Regions from separate parts of the Homo sapiens genome. Here region 1 is linked to region 2. The links are contacts of gene promoters, found by promoter capture Hi-C in human tissues and cell types (Jung and others, 2019). All regions are on one chromosome and are shown on one strand. Each heading gives the region's core, a stretch centred on a gene start or on the middle of the fragment in contact. The rest is flanking DNA. Distances are from core to core; before and after follow the strand shown. Region 1 overlaps ZNF76 (zinc finger protein 76). Region 2 holds the start of SRPK1 (SRSF protein kinase 1).

Region 1 (4,593 bases), core at 248-2,747, 640 kb after region 2:
ATGCTTGAGTCCTCCTTTTCCCTTAAAAGTCCAGGTACTTATTTCAGGCATGTCTCACCTTTCACCTCTGGACAACTATAAGGAGCCTTATAACTTATGTCCTCAGATAAACTTTTGTCTGTTTCCAATTCATTTTCTTTTCTTTCCTTTTTTAGAGACAAAGTATCACTCTGTCGCCCAGCTGGAGTGCAGTGGCTCCATCACAGTTCACTGTAACCTCGAACTCCTGGGCTCAAGTGATCTTCCTGCCTCAGCCTCTTCCAACTCATGTTCTAACATTCATGTTTATGCTGTCAGGGTGAATTTAAAAAAAAAGCTCTCTTCCCACTATCTTGGAGCCTGTAGAGGCCTGCTGAGAACAGGACTTCCAAAAGGCAAATATGGGCGGGGTGTAGTGGCTCATGCCTGTAATCCCAGTGCTTTGGGAGGCTGAGGCAGGAGGATTATTTGAGGCTAGGAGTTCAAGACCAATGTGGGCAACACAGCAAGACATTGTCTCTACAAAAAAAAAAAAATTAGCCAGGTGTAGTGGCACATGCCTGCAATCCTAGCTACACAAGAGGCTGAGGTGGGAGCACTGCCTGACCCCAGGAATTTGAAACTGCAGTAAGCTTTGATCATACCACTGAATTCCAGCCTGGGTGATAAAGAGACTCTGTCTCAAAAATAATAATAAGATAAATACAATACATTTGGAAGGCTGTAGTCCAAGGCCATTTTTTGCTAGCTGTAAGTGGGGCCTCCAGAACCAAAGCGAGGACACAGCTCTTATTAAAATTGAGGTATTGGCCAAGTGCGGTGGCTCACGACTGTAATCCCAGCACTTTGGGAGGCCGAGGACAGTGGATCACGAGGTCAGGAGATTGAGACCATCCTGGCTAACATGGTGAAAACCCATCTCTACTAAAAATACAAAAAATTAGCCGGGCGTGGTGGTGGGCACCTGTAGTCCCAGCTACTTGGGAGGCTGAGGCAGGAGAATGGCATGAACCTGGGAGGTGGAGCTTGCAATGAGCCAAGATCGCGCCACTGCACTCCAGCCTGGGCGACAGAGCGAGACTCCGTCCCAAAAAAAAAAAAAAAAAAAAAAAAAAATTGAAGGTATTTATGCTCGAAATGAAACTAATTCTATTTAGGCAAGAGATGTACTTACATGTATAAAGCAAAGAACAACACACTGACTGCTGGCAGCAAACTGAAGAAAACCAGCATAATCTGGGGAAAGGTAAACTCAGGCCCATGGAAACAGTGGCATGGTTTGTGCTAAATTCCCAAGCAATCTTGCTAAAGCTATTGAACACAGAATCTGTGTGACGCTGTGCCCCTCAAGGACTTAAGCTAATGAAAAGTAAATAAATAAAAGTAGATTTATAAGAAAAAAAGAGTACAAATCTAAACATACCACTTCCTTGACTAAAACCCTTCCATAGTTTCCTACAGCTCTTAGAGTCCACCTTGCATACAAGGCTGGGTTGTTATAAACTCCCACAGCCTAGGTACCACCTTTTCCTAGCACTCACACCTCTGGGCTCAACCTACTTCAGTACTCATCACTATCTGTTTAATGTCCGTTGCCTACACAAGGCTTTGGGCTCTAGCCTGGTTTCTGCGTCACAGTGGTTTCTCCAGCAACTCACACTGTGGGCTCTCCACACATCCTGTGAGTGACTCCCTGGGTCCCTCATGTGCAAGGTGGGAAGCACTGAAGCTTCCTGCTGGCAGGATATCTTCTGTACCCACTGTGGTGTGCAGCCTGCTCTAGCAGTGGACCCCAACACTTGTGAAGCCTGCAGGAAGCCCACGGCCTCTAAACTCAGTGCAGTCGTGAAGACTCTCTTTGACATCCATTCTCAAAATTCTCCTGGACTTGGAATCTGGACTGCCTACTGGATTCTCACGACTTACCAACCGATATCTTTGACTGGTGCTACCCAAACTGTTTTCATGTCAGGGGACCTAGAGAGACAGATATTTGTACATTGCATTGCAGATGCTGCTGCTTAAAGTCAGAAGTTCACATTGCAGATGTCACTGCTTCAAGCCAGAAGCGACCAACTGGGGCTTTGACAGCCCTGAGGGGCGAGCGGATCAATATCTTGGCAAAATTATAGACCATCCAGGAGTTCGAGACCAGCCTGACTAACATGGAGAAGCCCCGTCTCTACTAAAAATACAAAATTAGCTGGGCATGGTGGCACATGCCTGTAATCCCAGCTACTTGGGAGGCTGAGGCAGGAGAATTGCTTGAACCTGGGAGGCAGAGGTTGCGGTGAGCCGAGATCGTGTCATTGCACTCCAGCCTGGGCAACAACAGCGAAACTCCGTCTCAAAAAAAAAGAAAAAAACAAAACAAAAACTGGCTGGGCGTGGTGGCTCACACCTGTAATCCCAGCACTTTGAGAAGTTGAGGCGGGCAGATCACAAGGTCAGGAGATCCAGACCATCCTGACTAACAGGGTGAAACCCTGTCTCTACTAAAAATACAAAAAATTAGCCGGGCGTGGAGGGCGCCTGTAGTTCCAGCTACTCGGGAGGCTAAGGCAGAAGAATGGCATAAACCTGGGAGGCGGAGCTTGCAGTGAGCCAAGACTGCACCACTGCACTCCAGCCTGGGCGACAGAGTGAGACTCCGTCTCAAAAACAAACAAACGAAAAACCCAAAAAAACCTATAGACCAACTGCGACACGCTGATTGGAATGCTCTACCCCAGGCATGGCATCTCAACTAGAATTATTCATTCATTCTGTCCATAAACATTTACTAAATGGGCTAAGGTGCAAGGGCAGCAATACTATTATATAGTGAACACTACTATAGAGTTAACCACGTGCTAGGAATGTCACATACATTAACTCATTTAGTTCTAACAATCCTACAATCAAATGCTATGATTATCCTCATTTAAAAGTGAGGGAACTGGAGGCCCAAGACCAAGTTAAGTAACTTGCTCAAGGTTACACAGCTAACTAGTAAAGGAGGATTTCACCCTAGGCCATTTAATCCAGAGTGTGACCTTAATTACTATGCTGCGAAGCACAGAGGTGAAGCTGGGGGTTTATGAAACTTGAAGCTACTCCAAAATACTTTTTTGGTGTGTGAGCCTTTGCATTTTCCAGGAGAGAGGGAAATCCAAGGCTGTCATCAGGGTCTGATAGGGATTAATGGTGAAGAACCACTGGTCAAGGTGGGGATTCTGACATCTGACATCTCTGGTCTATTAGCATCCTTGCCCAGAGCCCTGATAACCTCCACGTGGTCCCTGTCTCACAAGAGCTCTGCTCCTGGCCTCTCTTGGTCTGCTCTGACCTTCAAGCTTCACTCTCTTCATCAGGTAGATTCTTTGGGTAACCCGCTTTAGTGTAACTGCACTGTGTCAGAAGACACATAAGAGAAACCAGGTCTAAAAACAAAGCAGGCTGGGCACGGTGGCTCATGCCTGTAATCCCAGCACTTTGGGAGGCCGAAGTGGGCGGATCACTTGAGATCAGGAGTTCGAGACCAGCCTGACCAACATGGTGAAACCCCGCCTCTGCTAAAAAAAAAAAAAAATACAAAAATTAGCCAGGTGTGGTAGCACATGCCTAGCTACTTGGGAGGCTGAGGCAGGAGAATTGCTTGGACCCAGGAGGCGGAGGTTGCAGTGAGCCAAAATTGCATCACTGCACTCTAGCCTGGGCAACAACAGCAAAACTCTTGTCTCAAAAAAAAAAAAAAAAAAAAACCCATAAATAAATAAATAAAAATAAAAACAAAGCAGACATAGGTTGAAAAGGGATTGCAAAATATCCTCAGACTCCCTGGGCCCTGTGGCTCCTGCAGCTCACCTCTGTCAAATACTCACATGGTTTAACTGAGCACAACTGCACTCCACTGGGACTTTCTAAGGAAAATCAGTGGTGTGGTTAAGAGCACAGGCTCTGAAGTCAGGTCTGGGTTTTAATCCAGGCTGAACTTCTGTGTAGCCTTGGGCAGGCTCTCTGAGCCTCAGATGTCACTTCTGAGAAAATGGGGATAATAGTGGCACTTGCTTCATAGCCTGCTGTAAGGGATTAAATGAGGGCACATATGCCTGTACTCTAGAAATACCAGCTATCAGGAGGAGGGGAAGGAAGAGGAACCTAAAGGGAAATGCTTTTGAAGCAATACGAAGTCCTAAAACAGCTAGGACTAGTGGCAACCACCCTGGACTAGAAGTCTACAGAATTGGCTTCTAATCTCGATTCTATCTCTATGTCTGCCTCTTTATCTGTAAAATGAAATGCTGGCCCAAATTACCCTAAGATCCTTTCTACTGCTCATGCTAATATTTATTTTTATCACATATAAATGTGATTAATATATACCAGCCACTTTTTAAAGCACCTTACCTATATTAACTCTTAATCTTAAAAATAACTGATGAGGAAGTAGGTATATTATACCCATTTTACAGATGAGGCAACTGAGGCTTAGAGGTATAGTACCTTGTCCAAGGTTCCAACACTACTATGTGTTGAAGCCAGAATTCAAAGCCAGGCTGGCTGGCCCCAGAGCCCATACTTCTCAATATCTGGCGCACTTCTTCCTTCTGCTAATTCACTGTGACTGGCACA
Region 2 (4,693 bases), core at 924-3,423:
TCACCATGTTGGCCAGGATGGTCTCGATCTCTTAACCTTGTGATCTGCCCGCCTCGGCCTCCCAAAGTGCTGGGATTACAGGCATAAGCCACTGTGCCTGGCCCATTTATTCTTTTATTAGACAAATATATGAGCACCTACTAAGTGCCTAACACTGTGTAGGCACTGAGTTTACATCAAGGAAAACCTAAGCAGGGTCTCTACACTCAAACAGTTTACTTTGGGGTGGGCAGTACTTTCCCAATTCTGGGATTTTTCCTAGCTATCAGCTCTCTCCCTGTCTTTTCTAAACCACACGCGGTTATCCTGAACTCACACAACCCTCAGAGTCTAGGGCTTCCCTGTCTGTCCTAACCTTCCTTTTGTTTTCAACTTTACAGCAGGGAATAGACTGGGCTGCATCCTTCCTTGGCCAACAGGTACTGTCTTCTTTTGCAATATACTCAGACATGCTATCATTCAGGTTCCATGCAACATATATCAATTATCTAAATTTCAAATTTGGCTAACCTGCCTTTCCAGCCTCACCTTCCATTTCATCCCTTCAGTTGTTACCAGCCCCAATCCTAGCCCCCACCTACAGGTGTCCACGTCTGTGCCTTTTTGCTCAATGTATTTTCTCATTCAGGAATGCCTGACATCTCCTTCTCCACCTATAGAAATCTTACATATTTCCTAATACCCAGCTCAAAAACTGCCTTCTCTGGATGGGCTTAATTACTTACTTTGCTCAATAAGTTCTGCCAAAGCCCCCATGCTTGACTTGTGCTGTACTATTGCCCTCTCATCTTCCCTTCTCAATTACTTGTTCAGAGCAAAGGTCTTCAGAGCTTCCACTCTGTCCAGCTGCGGTACTTTACAACATGGGTTGGTAAACTAAGATCTGAAATAAGAATAACCGTTGAAACGGTTGAAAAAAGATCAAAAGGGCCTGGCTCAGTGGCTCACACCTGTAATTCCAGCACCTTGGGAGGCTGAGGTGGGAGGATCACTTGAGCCCTGGATGTCCAGGCTGCAGTGAGCCGAGATCATGCCACTGTACTCCGGCCTAGGCAGCAGAGCAAGACTGCTCTCTCTGTCTTTCTTTAACCCTCACCTTCCCTTCAAAACCTAACAAAGACCATGTTTAAATCAATAGAAGAACATTTTATGACGTGAAAATTATATGAAATTCAAATTTCAGTGTCCATACATAAATCTTTATAGGAACACAGCCCATATTTTCTATGACTGCTTTTGAGCTCCAATGGCAGAGTTGAGTAGCTGAGAAAGAGATCTTATGGTCCACAAAGCCTAAATATTTACTGTACGGCCCAAAGAAAAACTTTGCTGAGCCTGCTATACAATAAGGGCTTCATGATTAAATAACTGGGTCGTACACCAAGATTCTGAACATATAGGCAGGCCCTCTTAAGTTTAGTGTCTTTGTGTAATGGAAGTAATAACTATTTTGCCTTTAAGTTGCCATAAACATCAAATGAGATAATGCACTTAGAAAATAAAAACAAAAAAAACTTATAAACAAGACAGCTTTATCATGTATTGAAGGTGGTAGAATAAGAAAACATTAAACGTTTTTATTCTCATTTCCCCTTCTTTCCTTTACAGCTTTCACTTAAACTTGAAATTTCAAGAGAAAATTCACTTTTGAAGTTTTTACTTTTCAAGTGATAATAGGGTCACAGGTTCTTTCCTTCCAGTCTTTTTGTGTTGCTCCCACTCCCTTTTCTTTCTCACATGTAATTTTTTTCCATTTTCTTTAAATAGTATCTCAACTGGGCTCACAATAGCTCAGGGAAGGAGAAACTGGGACATGCCTGATTAATCCATTTTACAGGCCAGGAAACTGAGGCAGATCCCAGTTGCCTCCGAAGCTCTGACTCAGCAGCATGCAGAGAGCCCTGCCGCTCTCTGCGCCTTTTCTAAACAAATAGAACAAAACTAACCTTGCCAGGTTTCCAAGCTTGGATCTCTAACACTCCTTCAACGTTCACCCCGGCGTTCCTCCCCGCTGCGCCCCCTCCCTCTCCTTGCCGCCCCCTCCTCGGGAGCAGGTGGTAGGCTCCGCGCCCAACGCGCAAGCGCGCGGCATCGTGGGGCGGGGGTGGGGCGGGACTGAGGGCGGAGTGTGAGCGGGCTCGGTTTTGGGCCGCGGCGGGAGCGGGAGTCGCCGCCACTCGAGTGCGCAGGCGCCTGGCGATTACCGGTCTCACCATGGAGCGGAAAGGTGAGCGGTGGAGCGGCCTCCGCCACGAGGGGCAATGGTCGCCGGGGCGAGGCCCGGGTCAGCGCCGGGAGCTTCGCTTAACTGCCGCGGTTCGGTTCCCGGACGTGCGGCGCCCCTCCACTGAGGTGGCGCCGCCCCACACCCCCTGCCTCTGGGCTGCGGGTCCGCGCCCCTCAGTCCGGGCGTCCTCTGGCGCCGGCCGTAGCCGCCCCTTGTTCCCCGCCAGGCCGGCTCGCGCCTTGGGGCCACTCCAGGGCCCGGCCCTTGGCGGGCGACGCAGACCCCCACCCGCCCGCCCCCTGACCCGGCCTGAGACCCCTCCGGCGCATCCCGCCCGGGCGCTGCTCTGCGCCCCGTGGGCCGCCAGCCCCACGGCCGGCCGCCTCGCCGGAGCCCGCAGCCGCCCCCGAGGCAGGCCCCGCAGCCGGGCCTGGCGCCCCTGCTGGGTCTCCACCCTCACCTTGGTCGCCTCCTTTCCTCCACATTCGCCCTTCATCCATCCCTCTCTCCTGCAGTGCTTGCGCTCCAGGCCCGAAAGAAAAGGACCAAGGCCAAGAAGGACAAAGCCCAAAGGAAGTGAGTCTTGTACCCCAACATCCCATTCTTTGGATTTTCCTCCGGCACCTTCTCTGCTCTGGTTTCACGTCTTGAACGTGCACCGGGTTTGGGCACCCTGTGGCTGCAGCCACATGGCCTCGGGGCAGCTCGGAGGGTCGCTCTCCAGCAACCATGTGGAAGAGAGCTGCTGTTGCTCAACGCCAGGCCTGGGTCTTAGCAGCCCCGGGCCTGCTGGAAAGGGCTGTCGGAGGAGGACCAGAGCCCGCCCGGTACCTTTCCTCCCCAACTCCACAGAGGAGGCACAAACTCCCCTAGCTTGGACCTCCCCACCGGAGCTGGTAGATCATTATCGGTCTGTTTCTGAACTCTGGTCTCTCTTACCTGCTCCCCAACGTCTTAACTTGCCTCCGACGTCTTCACGGTAGGCCTTAAGGAAATTCTTGAATGAATTTTTCCGTGTTTACTTTGGGTTCTACCAACCACACACTCCCTTTCATAGAGGAGGGCATGGGGCTTTTCCCTGGGTTAGTCAACTTCCTGAGCCTGTAAGGCGTATCGGCTTTTTTGCAGTGTGCCGGCAGACCGCTGTGTATACAGTCGGTGTCTGTTAACTGCTTCTCTTCTGTCTAAACCTCAACCAGATGCAGATAATCTTCCGGAGTGGACATCACAATAGTAACGGGAGAGTTCTTTAACAAACATTGATGATTCTGGTTTGGCGTATTAAGCGCCACATGTCCAGTTTTATCAGTAGGATGCATAACAGTAGTTTAGTGCTATCGTGGCAAGTTCAAAAGTTGGTCACAGCCTAGTAGAAACTCAGGTAGCAGGCTTAGCAGCAAGTGAGGCTAAGCCTTAAGAACTTTCATCATGTACTAACGTTTAATTGCAAAGGATCTTGGAAATCAGCTCTTACACACTTTGTATTCAGAGAGAGCTTGTATGCCTAGTTATTAATACATCTTAATTTTAGATGTATTATCTTTATAGTTTTACATTTATTTGATGTTTTGTGGCATCGTATGCGGTCTAATTCCCTCTGAGCTGATACAACACATTTCAAAGGCCTTCCTAGGTCACCCCACTGAATGACAATACCAGATTAGGGGGGTGTAGGGGTGTGTGTTGTTTTTGGAGGCTACCTACTGTTTGGGGAGAGCACATAATGACTTCTCTCTTTCAATAGAACTAAAGTGGTAGGTGACCTCACCTCTTGCTCCATTTTCTCTTCTGTCTTATGAAATGTATTTTGTAAGTGCTTGGTGACGAAGTCTTGTAAATGAGAGTTTGTGTGTGTCTGTTTACCTTTGGATTATCCATATATGGGATTATTCAAAACCAGTTTTTAATCCTAGATCGTTTAATAGAAACAGCAAGGTGCTAACTTGGTTCTAGTGTGCAGTAGGACTTGAAATGTTACTTTTCTGTGCCTAGTTTAGTTATTCTTTGTGGAATTGATGAGAATGTGTTAAAACGTTCTTTTCTATTGATACAAGGAAGTTGCAGTTTTTATTATATTACTCTGTATTTTTTAGAAATCCTGGTCTCTCAGACTATTTGTCCAGATCTCTCTTACCACTTAGAAATTAATTTGAGATTAGCCCAAATCAAGCTGTAATTTGAGGGGTAAATGTATATAGATGATATACTTTAAGCACCAGAAATCTGTTACTTTCGATTATCTATTTAGACCATATGCTTTATTTCTAAAGTCAGATGTGTATCTGTTACCCCATTCACTACTATGGATAACTTAGAGTTATTTGTGTTAATTGTTTGCAAGTATGGATTATAGATAATCTAGCAGTCATTTTACTGAATATTTCATCTTGAACAACTTTGAATCCTGAAAATATGCGTGAATGAACTGCCCCCATTTCCTTGTAACTTCAGAGGTGTTTTATTTTT

The links. The method cuts DNA at HindIII sites, captures the fragments that hold promoters and counts their contacts. A contact is called where the count stands out against the background at its distance.
Region 1: a fragment that was not itself captured here is called in contact with the fragment with the promoter of SRPK1 in region 2 in 1 of the 25 tissues and cell types used here (dorsolateral prefrontal cortex).

Annotation. Positions count from the first base shown.
Region 1 is chr6:35,275,921-35,280,513 of GRCh38, reverse strand. All of the region lies in intron 1 of ZNF76 (zinc finger protein 76), which reads right to left. Among named protein-coding and RNA genes, the nearest start is that of ZNF76, 18 kb to the right of the region's middle. The HindIII fragment of the contact is 5,242 bases long and covers 1-4,118 here.
Region 2 is chr6:35,918,578-35,923,270 of GRCh38, reverse strand. SRPK1 (SRSF protein kinase 1) reads left to right here and starts at 2,173. Exons shown (of 16, transcript NM_003137.5): 1 at 2,173-2,227; 2 at 2,743-2,803. The coding sequence starts at 2,215. RefSeq lists silencers at 1,831-1,890, 1,921-2,510. The HindIII fragment of the contact is 10,140 bases long and covers 1-4,060 here.